2 separate regions of the Homo sapiens genome follow, and region 2 is linked to region 1. The links are contacts of gene promoters, found by promoter capture Hi-C in blood cells and fetal thymus (Javierre and others, 2016). All regions are on one chromosome and are shown on one strand. The core of a region is centred on a gene start or on the middle of the fragment in contact, and the rest is flanking DNA. Distances in the headings are between cores, read along the strand shown.

Region 1 (6,968 bases), core at 2,528-5,027:
TGAATCCCATTGTTCTTTAGTCGTGTGTTGTTTAAGATTTTTTTCTTTGTTTCAGTGTTTAGAATTTTTGATTATAATGTGTCAAGAGTATAGACTTCTTTGAGTTTATTCTATTTGGCATTCCTTAAGCTTCTTTAATCTTTAGGCTTATGTCTTTTCACACATTTGGGAATTTTTCAGAAATTATTTCTTCAAAATTTTTGTGTGTACTGCACTTTATCCTCTTAATCTGGAATTCCAATGACATTAATTTTGGACTTTTGATATTGCCCTACAGGTCCCTGAAGTTCTGTTAACTTTTTTTTTCCCAATGTTTTTTCTCTCTCTTGTTCTGATTGGATTATTTCTGTTGACCCATCTTCAAGTTGACTGACTCTTCTGTCATTTCTATCCCGCTTGGAGCTCATCCAGTGAGTTTTTATTTTAGTTATTATATTTTTTCATTTCTCAAATGGCACTTTAGAAAAACAAACAGAACAACCAGTGATAGGAGATGGGATTGGAGAAATAAGTCCAAAATTGCCTAGACAGAGCTCTGTAGGCAACAGTAGAGCGTCCAGATCTTATGCAAAGTACAGAGGAAAAATCACTGGGGATTTTAAGGAAGGGAATAGAATTATGTGATATATAATTTTAAAAGGCTACTTGAGAATATATTGATAGGGGAAAGAGTGGAATCAATAGATCAGTTAGGAAGTGTTGTCTTGGTCCAAGAAAGACTGTGGTGGCCTGGGCGAGGCAATCACAGGAGCCTAGCACCTCTATCTGGCCCTGCACTGCCCCAACAGGCAGCCTGAACCTCAGGGGGCTCTAGATCCTTATGCTTCCAAGGAAACTGCTTCTTGATTCCTGTCACCATGGCAGCTACACTTCTCCTACCTGGATTGGTCGCTGGAGTGGCATCATCAGCACTAAATGACTGATCCTCACAATAAGAACTGGTTGTCATGGTGCTACCAATTATGCAAACAAGAATCTGCCTTTCTTCTGCAGGCTCAGCGTCCTTGACTAGCTCTGTACCTAAGGGAAAATCAGGGAGAGAGAGAAGATCATGACGTCGGAGCCAAGGGGAGGCTAGCTGTCAGGTGGTTGCTGAGTCACTATTCCTCAAGACTTGCCCAAGTCAAGACTGCAACTAGAGGCCCTTATATAGTGGGGTGAGGGGAGCTTACACTGTGGAGGGGGAGCCCCTGGCACATATACACACAAATTCCAAATCCGATTTTCCTCCCATTTTAGAGCTTCTTTGAACTGTTTCCTTCTCTGAGCAAAACTTTGTCACAGATTGAGGCCTTCCTCCTCTCCCAGCCCCATTACCCTGCAGAGAGGCAGTTTTAGGACAACTTGCTACTGGATTTTTTAAAGTGAGTTTTCATGAAAATTCTTTAAGCAGGCTTGTCTGCAAGTAAGACAGTGGGCCTCAGCCAGAGCTTCTGAATTAAAATATGTAAAGCCAGAACAGAGAGGACATTTGGGGTGGGGATTGAAATAGTAAAACTCCTTGGTACACATGGAGCCTAGGCTTCTGATCTCCTTCTCCTTCCGGACATCATTTGTAACATGAATGTAAGACAGAGTAGGACCACAGCTGAATTACAATCTTCCTTCGCCCACTCTCCCCAGCTACACTTTATGGTAGTCTTTCTTTCTTCTTGGGAAAGAAAGTTCCTTCCTACGAACCCCTGGTTCAATAGGCCTGAAAACCTGCTAAGTCTTCTGAGGGTATTACTCTTAGCATTAGAATCCCTTCCAATGAACAGTAAAAAGAAGAGCAGCATCAATGCTCCTGTACATTTATCATTTTGATAGCCATTCTCCTGGTGGTTTAAAATCTTAAAATACAGAGAGGAGCACACTCACCTTTGTTCAGCCGACCCAAAGACCAATATTTCCCTTTTTCCAGGAGCATTATACTTCACAAAGCAGGTTCACGTTCATTTGCTCTTAGGCCTCAAATTATTGCTATAAATTTATTTTAAAATAGCATGTCCAGTACATAATCAGTGACAACCAGATAAACCTCTAGTTTTTGGCGTGACAAGACAGAAACTTGTGTCGGATCCTCCTAACATTGGGTATATACTCTAGGCAAAATATAAAAATAACTGTATGAAAGCATGGAGACTGATCAAGAGTTAGAAACCTACAGGGAGTATAGTCCTCAAAAAAAGGAAGTCCACCAAGTGACTTATACATGTATAGGCTTTTCCTCTGAAGATACTTCAGAGTTCACTGCAGTACACAGGGAAACAGCTCTGTCAGCAACTGGCAGTCTTACTAAGGAAACAGCTTTTGGAGTACAGAGATGCCAGAGCATCTGGAAATTGAGGAAGAAATTTAGAAAATGAATAAATTACAGAGAGAGGAACTCAAAATCTGCATCCTAACTCCCCTCCAATTCTTAGCTATCTTCTAAATGGCACTTGCGCAGGGTGAGATTTCAAGGAACCTAGTGAAAAAGTCAAATATCTGAACAGAGATTTTGGCAGCTGTCACAGTGTTAGGGTGACTGAGTTTGGAGTTCAGGACCCGTAAAATAGAGAGTTTTGGTAAATGACTTTGGGTTATGTTGAAATCCAAAAAGGACCACACCTTAGCCATAAGCACCATATCCCAGGACTAAGAGATACAGGCTAGAATTGAGAATAGGATGAAGTACTCCTTCCCTAACCAGACTGCCACAGGATCAAGACTTTTTACCAAAAATTTAATTGCCTGCCAGAACAAACTCAAACTATTACCCTTTAAAGATAATAATATAATTCAGATCCTTTGTAATGTATCAACCCCAAATGTTCACTATACAAACCCTTAGGTTTAAGTAATCCACTATCTCGACCTCCCAAAGTGCTGAGATTACAAGCATGAGCCACCATGCCCAGTTTAATAAATGTTTTAAGCTTAATGAAAAAAAATTTAAATGCCAGTCTAAGAGTTAGAAAGCTCACAAACTAGCTTGTAAGTACACAAGAGTGAAAGCAAGAGGTCAGTTAGCTAGTTAGTTACTACAACAACTCAATTTAAAAGAGTACAGTGTCCAAGGCCTGGCATGGTGGCTCATGCCAGTAATGCCAACACTTTGGGGGGCCAAGGTGGGAGGATTGCTTGAGCCTAGGAGTTTGAGATCAGCCTGGGAAACATGGCAAAACCCTGTCTCTACAAAAATAAATAAATAAATAAATAAAATTGGCTGGGCATGGTAGTGTGCACCTGTAGTCCCAGCTACTCTGGAGCCTGAGGTTGAGTAGAGGTCGAGCGGAGGTTGTGGTGATCTGAAATTGCAAGACTGTCTCAAAAAAAAAAAAAAAAAAAAGTACAGTGTGCAGTGGTTTGGACCAAGGCGATGGCAGTGGATGTGGAGTAAAGTGGATGGATGTGCCATATATAATATATAATATATAATATTATATATATATATATAGCAGATCGAACCTATATGATTTCTAAAGGGTTTTAAGTGGGCCAGAGTAAAGAGTGTCAAGGATAATAAAATAAACTAAATTCCTTGAGTGCCTACTGTTTCATCGCTGTTCATATTTGATTCTCACAACAAACCTGAGTAGGTACAACTTGCACCCGTATCTTACGTGCCATCCGTTTCTGCAGCCTTAGGACTGGGAGTACAGGCGGTGGTTCTTGGGACCCAGCTAATGCCCGAAAGGAGCCGGGTCAGGAATTCCAAGAGATGAGGGTGGGGAGGCGGTAGGGGAAGGAGCTGGGGAGGCGACCGCAGGGGCAGGGCCCGCTCACGATTGGCTGAACTGCCGAGGAGGGTTAAACAGATTCGGAGTCGCGGGCTGGTGGGAAGCTGCAGCCCCGCTCAGCCCCTCGGCCGTGGCCGCTACCTTCACTGAGACTTGGCCGGGGAGTGAGCGCGCCGAGCCTGGGAGGATACAGCACCCACTGTGGCCTGGGAGCTCCGAGGGGCTCCAGCTGCTTGTCTGCTTCCTGCTGCTGAACAGCTGCCCGGGGGGCTGCAGCGACACTAGTGCCCACGGTCAGGAGGAACCCTGGGGGGTGCGGGCAGGGCCAAGAAAGCGATCCTGAGAAGTGGGGGTCTGCAGGGGGCCTCAAGGCTAGGAAACTTGGAAGTAAAAGAATGTGCTTAAGGACGTGAGAAGAGAAAAAGGTAGACAGCGTCTAGCGGAAAGAGGCATAGGCTTCAGATAGGCTGGGCATATGGGGTCTGGACTCACGAGAAGTGGGTTCAGGTGAAAATTGGGGATTTGGGAAGAGGTCAGAAAGACAAATGAACAGAGAGAGGTAAAACTGGCCTATGTGGCCACAGGAGAAGCAAGAAAGGCCAGAAAAAGAGTTGACCAGGGCTGCGGGTATCGGGGTCTTGGCTCCAGGGAGAAGGCTGGGCCAGGAGACGAGCCAGGGCTTCCTCGTGCTGTGATCCGGTTTCCAATAAGGGGACCGCTGAGGGAAAGCAGGATGGAGGGGGAATGGGACCATCCTTCTCCCCTTCCCCCGCACCAATCCGCGTAGACCCCGCGCTGACTCACGTGCCAGACTGCGCACACTCGAGAACTCCTGCGCAGAGCGCATGGGGAAGAGAGCGCAAACTCCTAGTCTGTCGCCCCCTCTCCCTGATTTTTGGTTTTAGAGGCCAATGCAGCGGATTCAGGAACAGCTGTGGGAGGAGGCCTGGTGGCAATGAGAGGATGAGGGCCGTGGGGAAGGACCGCCAAGCCTTGCGGAGATGTCTCGCCCACATTCCGCCCAGCGCCGCCGCCACGCTGGCCTCCCCACCTCTCAGCACCACGGACAGCGCCAGGCGCGCTCCGGGTCCACGCCGAGCCCGAGCGGGTCACCACTCCTTCCCACCAGTCCTGGGAACGCTGCCTCAGAGAATCAGCTCCCCTTCCCGAAGCTCTTTCCCTTCTCCTCAGGGTGTTGGAGGTTCCACTACTTCCTTAAGGAGGCTTTCTCATCCCCAAATGTCTCTACTTAAAACTTTGTCACGCTTACCCCCAGGAAATTATTAGACATCCATTTGACTGGGTAGGAGAATTCCCTTTTCTAAAGACCTGTCCAGAATGGCTCATGGTAACTACACTATAGCAAAAAACAGACTGTCCTCCAGCCCTATCTCACTGATCTGGAAGAAGGAAGGTGTGCATAGCATTAGGGGTTCTCTTCCCCAACCCCTGTCCTTCCTCTCATGCACAGTTGGGCAAACTGTGGGCTTCAGGAAAAGGATCCAGAGCCTCAAACCCTAAACAAACCAATACCTTTTCTAATGATTCCAGGCCTCCTCCCTAACACTTCCAGGCTTCAATGACTTCCCTAAGATGAAGCTCACCTGTTTCCCCATGCCCCACCTACCCACCTGATTACTATTCCCATGTGCTCAGCTTTCTGAGCCTCTGCGCATCTGAACTTCTACAGGCTGCTCTTTGTAAATCTGGTTATCTGTAAGTTGGTACCAAGAGTGAATGAGGCCCAGGGGTTGAAGAATATGGCAAGTGGTGATGGAGGAAGGGAAAAATTAAAGAAGACTTGAAGTGGACAAAGCGGCCTGGTAGTGGGAACAGAGGTCAGGGGTCCAGGAGTGACAGTACAAGGAAGCTGCTTCTCTTCAACTGGGATGTGGAAGGCTCTGGCCAGGTTCCTTGCTGACACCACTATTTTGCCCTTAGATGGTCAGGACCAAGTAGGAGTGGGGCAGCTTTGGCCCCTCCAAGGATTTGCCACCCCAGTCTTCCAGCATTTACAGGTTGTGCTCCAGCAGATTATACCCCAAGGTAAGTAAAAGCTGGAGAACAGAGGTTGGGGCCTGGTTAGAGATGGGGAGGGGGGAAGAGGGGCTATCCGACCTGAGGGTAGGCTTTCTGTTCCCCAAATGTCTCTACTTAAAACTTTGTCACATTTACCCCCATGGGGATGAGACAGGAGTAGGAGTGGGATCTGGATGGGTGGACTATTTGCACTAGAACACCTTGGAAGAGCCCAGTAAAGGCTTCTAGGGAAAAAAAAAAACAAAACTGAAAACGGCCAGCATCCAACTCCTTGAGACTAGTCTCCCCCCAACCCCAGCACTATATGAGCTTTTCCAAAGCCAGGACTCTTCAAGTTCTCAGACAGGAAAACACACACTTCAGCCTCTGAGTAGGAAATTGTATGACAAACAGATGGGAGGAATGAAAGGGAGTGGAGAGTCCATTGGCAACATGTGGCTGACCCTGTCTCACAGCAGAGTTTCATGAATGTTGGGGAGGAGACAGTCAGCTAGGAAATCTTCCTTGAGTTCATATTACTGCTGCTAACACTAATATGTGCATAGTGCCTTAGAGCAGTAGTTCTCAAAGTGCACCCCTGGACTGGCAGCATCAACCTCGCCAGGGAACTTGTTAGAAATGGGAATTTTTGAACTTCACCACAGACCTACTGCATCAGAAGCCCTAGGGGTGGGAAACAGCAGTCTGTATTTTAACAGACCTTGCAGGAGATTCTGATGCACATGCTAAAGTTTGATAATCACTGCCTTAGCATTTTCTAAGCACTCTTTATATTCCTAACCTCATTTAATCCTCACAATAGCATCAAATGAACCAGCAAAGAGACTGTAATCATAATCCTAATTTGAATATTATATGCTAGGCACTATGCTAAGCAACTTTAATACATCATCTTGTTTAATTCTCTGTAAAATGTAATCTAATATATACTTGAGAGAAAGGTTACTCTGATCCCTGGAGTGGATCCGAGTGTCTCAGGTGTCAACTCACCCCCCATCCTTTCATCCTGCAGGTCTGTTCTGGAAGGATGACATCACCCAGGATGCAATGATCCAAAAGATGGAGCATGCCAGCAGACTGCATCCCCAAGAACCATGCCTGAAGGATGGGAAGGCACTTTTCCCCACTAAAACCACTGAGGTGAGGTGCATGAGGCCTGTGGTCATTCCAAGCATTCTGGCAGACAGACGGAACAGGGAAGGAATGTGTGCTAAAACTGCAGGT
Region 2 (6,968 bases), core at 2,024-4,523, 610 kb after region 1:
CCTGACTCTCTGACCTTATCCAGAGCCACTCTTCCTCTCATGAGGAACGTTCCCACCTCTGGATCTTTGTGGTTTCCTCTGAAACACTCAGATCTTTGAATGGCTGGCTTAGTTCTTTCACTCAGTATTCAACTAAAAAGGCCTTCCTTGTCAATCCTATCTAATATTGTCCTACCCCAATCATTCCCTATTTCATTACCTTGTTTTATTCCCTCCATTTCATTCCTCCACTATCTAAAATTATTATATATTTATATTTCCTTACACTTGGCTCAAAAAAAAAAAAGATGAACAAAGAAGCTGGTAATTTTTTTAAAAACTACCAATGAGGTTGGAAACAGACAAAGATGACTTATCTGTGTATACCTTTTCCTACAATTTTAATTTCTTTTTGTTTGTTTGAGACCAGGTCACTTGGTCACCAAGGTTTGACCTCCTGGGCTCATGGTCCTCCTATCTCACCCTCCCAAGGAGCTGGAACTACTGGTGTGTTCCACCGCACCCAGCTAACTTTTTTATTTTTTGTAGAGATAAGGTCTTGCTATCTTGCCAGGGCTAGTCTCAAACTCCTGGGCTCAAGCGATTCTCCCACCTCAGCTTCCCAAAGTGCTGGGACTGCAGACATGAACCCCTACACCTGGCCCTAATTTTAACTTCTGAGTTTTTTAATTTTTTTTTTTAAATAGAGACAGAGTCTCACTATGTTGCCCCAGTTGGTCTCGAATTCCTGCCCTCAAGTGATCCTCTTGCCTCAGCCTCTCAAAAGTGCTGAGATTACAGGTATGAGCCACTGGGCCTGGCTATTTTAAAATAAAAACCTCAATTATTTATGCATTTCTTTGCTATCTGTCTATCTTCCAGAATGAAAGCTTTGAGCACAGGGACTTTTTCACAGAGCTTATGTATCCAGCCCTAGAATGGTAATCAGGGCTCATTAAATATTTGCTGAATAAACAAATGCATCTACAACAGCTATGACCAGCTAAGGGGGAAAAAACTTTTTTCACTCCCTTACATAGTCACTCTTAACACAGTACAGAATATTTCACCTCTGGTCATCAAAATGTGTGAGGCACACACACCAAGGAATGCTCCAGAGGCCACCAGCTGGATATCCTATAATTCAATTCTGACACTATTTACCTAAAGATAGCATCAGATCTCACAGGTTAAGGGCTCAGTACCACAAGGCTGCTTCCACTTCAGATTCCAATTGCAAGGCACAGGTTGTGACCTGTGCTTCTGATTGATTTGCTATAAATTGGTGTTCCCTGGCCAGGCGCGGTGACGCACACCTGTAATCCCAACACCTTGGGTGGGGCGAATCGCTTGAGCCCAGGAGTTCAAAATTAGCCTGGGCCACATGGCAGAACCCCACCTCTTAATTAATTAATTAATTAATTAATTGGGGGTAAATTGAGGTTCCCAAAACCCCCCCATGGGGTTTGATCAATTTGTTAGAACAACTCACAGAACTCAGGGAAACACTTCACTTACATTTACCTATTTATTACAAAGGATACAGATGAACAGCCACATGGAAGAGATACATGATGCATAGGGCAAGGGATGGGGAAAAGGGCTTGGAGCTTCCGTGCTGTTACCGGGAGTGCCAGGTACATTCATGTGCTCAACAATCCAAACCCTGTCCTTTTGGGTTTTTATGCAGGTTTCATTAATAGGCATGACTGAATAAATCACTGGCCATTGGTAGTCAGCTCAATCTTTGGCTCCACTCCCCTTCCCAGAAGGTGGGGGATGGAACTGAAAGTTCCAACCCTCTAATCACATGGTTGGTTCTCTCGGCAATCAGCCTCCCATCTTGAGGCTATTCAGGAGTCCCCAGCTATCAATCATCTCATTAGCATATAAAAAGACACTTATCACTTACAAGTTCTGAAGGTTTTAGGAGCCAGGAACCAGGGGCACACCCCAATTATGTATTTCTTTCTTTTTTTTTTTTTTTTTGAGACCGGAGTCTCACTGTGTTGCCCAGGCTGGAGTGCAATGGTACGATCTCGGCTCGCTGCAACCTCTGCCTCCCGCGTTCATGCAATTCTCCCGCCTCAGCCTCCCGAATAGCCGGGATTACAGGCACCCGCCATCGTGCCCGGATAATTTTTGTATTTTTGTAGAGACAGGGTTTCACCATGCTGACCAGGCTGGAGTATTTCTTATTATATCACAATATCACATCAGCAAAGCCACGAGTTGGACCTATTCATATGAAAAAGGCGTTCCCCTCTTACCACCATCTCCTTGTTGCTATTTTTTACTCAGTGCGTGCACTCTGCCACAGCTGTACCCAACCCCTTCAATAGTGTCTTTCCTCCTCCTGAGGCCAATCCAAAATCCTCCAGTTCTTTCATCCTCCCCCACATCAAATCAATCTCTCTCACAATGTCAACTATTATCTGCAGAAGAGTCATTTTGCAGATTTGTCGTCTCAAGTTTCATGTCTGCATCACCAACTGCCTGTTCCACCTTTCCAAATGCATGTCCAACCACTTCAATCTAGTGTGTCAAACTAGCTCTCCACTCCTGATCGTCCCATTTCCTTGAGTGGACCCTTCTTTCTCCAAATCACCTAAGAGGAAAACTAAGTTATTTCTGACTTTTTCCTTTACTTTATTTCCCCAAAGGGAAACCAGTCATGAAATTTAAGACACTCTGTCTACTTAGCATTCTTCCTCCTTTTATTATTTCCACCATGCCCCTAGATCTGGACTTACTGCAACAGCACTGACTGAAGCATGTGTCTCCAAGGTGTGCCCTTCCTAATTCCACCCTGCAGGCAACCTCCAGATTAATTTTGCTGTATTGCTTCATCAGGTCAATCCCTTTTCAAAAACGGTCCATGAGCACTTACTAAACACTGTGGTGGCCCACCTGCATCAGAATAACCTGAGATGCAAAGTCCTGAGATTCACCTTCAAGAGGATTCAGTTGGTGTGGAGTAGGGCCATGAGTCTGCAGTTTTAACAAGCATTCCAGATGACTGTCATGTGAGATTTCTTAGCTTTGGTCCACAAGACTCCATAGTCGACCCTTAATCTTTTTTTTTTTTTTTTTAAGGCTTATTTCCATTTCCTCCTACCTTGAACTCTGTTATGTGAACTGCGCTGGTCTTACACTAAATTCCTGGAATAAACCTTTCAAATGCCTGTCTGCAGGGCTTTACTCCACTAAGCTTCTTCCTTGTGAATCCTTACCATATTTTATTTACCTTTTCCAGACCCAGCTCAAGACCCACCCTCTCCACGAGCACCTGTTGTGTGTCCCTCTCACGTGATACTTTCCCAAGGCTATCTCACACCACTGTTCACTTACCCTAGTGATATGCCCTATAAGCTTCATGATGGCTTTTATAGGAAATCTCTGGGGATCTTTAACCTCAAATACAGAGCCACGCTGGCAGAAGGGGGTGGGAAGAACCCTGGTCCAGTTTGGCCTCCTATTAGCAATATTGCCCAAGTCTCCTCCCCCAACAACTTTATGGAACACTAAGTCTTCCTAGAACAAAAGTTTTTAAAAAATTGACTTAGAAACGATGGATATGTTCAATGTGAATTATACCTCCACAAAACTGTTAAAAATAAAAATAAAACTTGAATAAAGGGGTAAGAGTGAAGAATAAAAAACTGCAGAAAGTTGTATGGATCAACAAAATGGCCTGAAACATCCCCTTCTATTTGCATGGCTGCCTCAGCCCAGTCTCCAACCCCTCTAACACCAAGTGCAGGACTGTTAAGGTAAGCAGCCTGACTGATGTCCCTGGCTCCAGACTCTCCCCTTTAAAACACCCATTCTCAGGAATCTGAACATCCTACTTTGTCATCTTCATGCAGCATTTGGAAACTGCCTATACAGTTCTGTCCTCCAATCTTTATGGGGTGATTTTGCCTCAAGTTTCCTCCTTAAAGGAGTGTGAATGATTAGTAGCCTATGTTAGAAAATCTATTGCTGGCCGGGCGCAGTGGTTCATGCCTGAAATCCCAGTACTTTGGGAGGCCGAGGTGGGCAGATCACCTGAGGTCGAGAGTTCGAAACCAGCCTGAGCAACATGGAGAAACCCCATTTCTACTAAAAATACAAAACTAGCCAGGCATGGTGGTGCATGCCTGTAATCCCAGCTACTTGGGAGGTGGAGGCAGGAGAATCGCTTGAACCTGGGAGGCAGAGGTTGCGGTGAGCCGAGATTGCGCCATTGCACTCCAGCCTGGGCAACAAGAGTGAAACTGCGTCTCAAAAGAAAAAAAAAAAAGAAAAGAAAATCTATTGCTGCTGTCGCAAACCAACAAGTCTCCAGGGACCAGGCCCAGACCAACTTGGACAAGGTATCTATTTCTAGAGAAAGCAATTATTCATTACCCACTAATTAAATCACTCTCCTACAAGAGAGTGTGGCTCTTGGGAAATGCAGTTTCCCTTTCCTCCTTCAACTAGGTGTTTCCCTCGGTCACCAGGGAAACTCAGGACATCAGAAATGGTTCAGTCTACAGTCCACAAGATCTCTGATGAGATTACCTCAACTGCTCAACAGTTATGTTAGAAGATAGAACTGACAGGCTCACGCCTGTAATCCCAACACTTTGGGAGGCTGAGGCAGGTGGATCACGAGGTCAGGAGATCAAAACCATCCTGGTTAACACGGTGAAACCCCATCTCTACTAAAAATACAAAAGGCGTGGTGGCAGACGCCTGCAGTCCCAGCTACTTGGGAGGCTGAGGCAGGAGAATGGCCTGAACCCGGGAGGCGGAGCTTGCAGTGAGCCGAGACTGTGCCACTGCACTCCAGCCTGGGTGACAGAGCAAGACTCTGTCTCCAAAAAAAAAAAAAAGAAGAAGATAGAACTGACTTGCCTGGAACCAAATAGAGAGGAGTGTAGGAATCACATTAATTTTCTCTTATGAGATAAATCCCAAGCTCTCTCTCCCTAAGGAAAGGTGGAGGAGCAATATATCTCTCCTAAAGCCCTACTAAGAGAGGAAGGTCAAGAATACAGCCTAGTGAGAAGGGTGGGTCCGTATAAGTCAAGATTAGTGAAATTACAGGTAGCTCTTGTAGAGCACAGTTTAGCAATGCCAAACAAGTAAGCAAACCTGAGGAAAAGATACAGGTTATGGCAGCTGGAGCTGAGGGAGGTAAACCTATAAATTACTGAAAAGTGAAACCAGTGGAAGGGTTTATGTAATGGGGTGACTCACTCTCCTGAAGCCTTGCCCTTTATCAGCTTCGGGAAGGAGGCTCTTTCCTCCTTCTCAGGTGGGCTCTGGAGCAGCAGTTCTCAAAGCATGGTCCACAGACCCTGAGGGGACCCTAAGATCCTTTTGGCGGTCCTGCTACATAGAAAATATTTTCATAACAAAACTAAGAGGTAGCTGGGTGGGGTGACTTGTGCCTATAATCCCAACACTTTGGGAGGCTAAGGTGGGCAAATTACTTGGGCTCCAGAGTTCAAGACCAGCATGGGCAACATGGTGAAACCTTGTCTCTACAAAAAAAAAATACAAAAAATCAGCTAGATGTGGTGGTGCATGCCTGTGGTAGGAGGATCACCTGAGCCTGGGGGGTGGAGACTGCAGTAAGCCATGATCATGCCACTGCACTCCAGCCTGTCTTCGGACAAAAAAAAAGAAAAAGAAAAAAACCTAAGATGTTATTTGCCTTTTTACTGTGCTGACCTTTCCACTGATAGAGCAAAAGCAATAATGAGTAAAACTGCTGGTGACTTAGCATGAATCAAGACGATGGCACGAAATTAGATTCTTACCCACTATACTTTTCCACCACACAGTGAAAGAATACAACCAGGTTTACTTGATGGCACAGTGTAAATTTTTTTTTTCTTTTTGAGACAGAGTCTCGCTCTGTCGCCAGGCTGGAGTGCAGTGGCACGATCTCGGCTCACTGCAACCTCCGCCTCCTGGGTTCACGCCATTCTCCTGCCTCAACCTCCTGAGTAGCTGGGACTACAGGCACTTACTACCACGCCCGGCTAATTTTTTGTATTTTTAGTAGAGACAGGGTTTCACCGTGTTAGCCAGGATGGCCTCGATCTCCTGACCTTGTGATCTGCCCGCCTCGGCCTCCCAAAGTGCTGGGATTACAGGCGTGAGCCACTGCGCCCAGCCCGACACAGTGTAAATTATATTAAATCTCATTAAAAAGTGTCCTTGAGTATGCTTTTTAATATTCTGTGTGATAAAATGTGAAGTACATATAAAACATTTATGCTGCATGCAGAACATGTTGATTATCTCTAAAGCACTTGTGTGATTGTCTGAATTGCAGGATTTTTCTGTGGAACGCCATGTTTACTTGAAAGAATGAATGACACATAAGTAATAGTTATTCCGACGTCATTATTTGGCAAAGGTTCTGGAAAATGAAACAAAGTAAGCCTGTCACTTCAAGGAAACCAACTGACTGTACTTGTTGCCAATGATAAAATTTGAGCTTCCCAAAGAAAATTAGAATTTTGGCAAAATGGTATCTGCCACCACGAGTTTGAGTGCTTCCCAATATTTAACTACTTCTCTGAAGAGATTGTGGTGATATGATTTTTTTGACACTATACAATAAACTGTGACACGTGGGAGATCTGCATAACTCAGTGAACCAGTATTTTCCTAACAGTCATGCCTCACATAATGTTTCAGTCAACAGATAGTCCCCATAGAAGACAATGTCCCATAAGATTATCATTCCAGGCCGGGTGTGGTGGCTCACGCCTGTAATCCCAGCACTTTGGGAGGCCGAGGCAGGTGGATCACGAGGTCAGGAGATCGAAACCATCCTGGCTAACATGGTGAAACCCCATCTCTACTAAAAATACAAAAAAATTAGCCAGGCGTGGTGGCGGGTGCCTGTAGTCCCAGCTACTTGGGAGGCTGAGGCAGGAGAATGGCGTGAACGAGGAAGGTGGAGGTTGCAGTGAGCCGAGATTGCGCCACTGCACTCCAGC

What was found. Contacts are between HindIII fragments. The CHiCAGO score rates a contact against its expected background, and 5 or more counts as called.
Region 2: a fragment that was not itself captured here is called in contact with the fragment with the promoter of RESP18 in region 1 in 1 of 17 cell types (total B cells); the score reaches 5.5 in total B cells.

Annotation. Positions count from the first base shown.
Region 1 is chr2:219,329,553-219,336,520 of GRCh38, reverse strand. It overlaps RESP18 (regulated endocrine specific protein 18), which reads left to right and starts at 3,777. Exons shown (of 6, transcript NM_001441699.1): 1 at 3,777-3,997; 2 at 5,646-5,750; 3 at 6,757-6,884. The coding sequence starts at 3,892. RefSeq lists an enhancer at 599-1,798. The HindIII fragment of the contact is 5,862 bases long and covers 2,903-6,968 here.
Region 2 is chr2:218,715,675-218,722,642 of GRCh38, reverse strand. All of the region lies in intron 1 of TTLL4 (tubulin tyrosine ligase like 4), which reads right to left. Among named protein-coding and RNA genes, the nearest start is that of TTLL4, 8.3 kb to the right of the region's middle. RefSeq lists a silencer at 2,780-3,077. The HindIII fragment of the contact is 161 bases long and covers 3,193-3,353 here.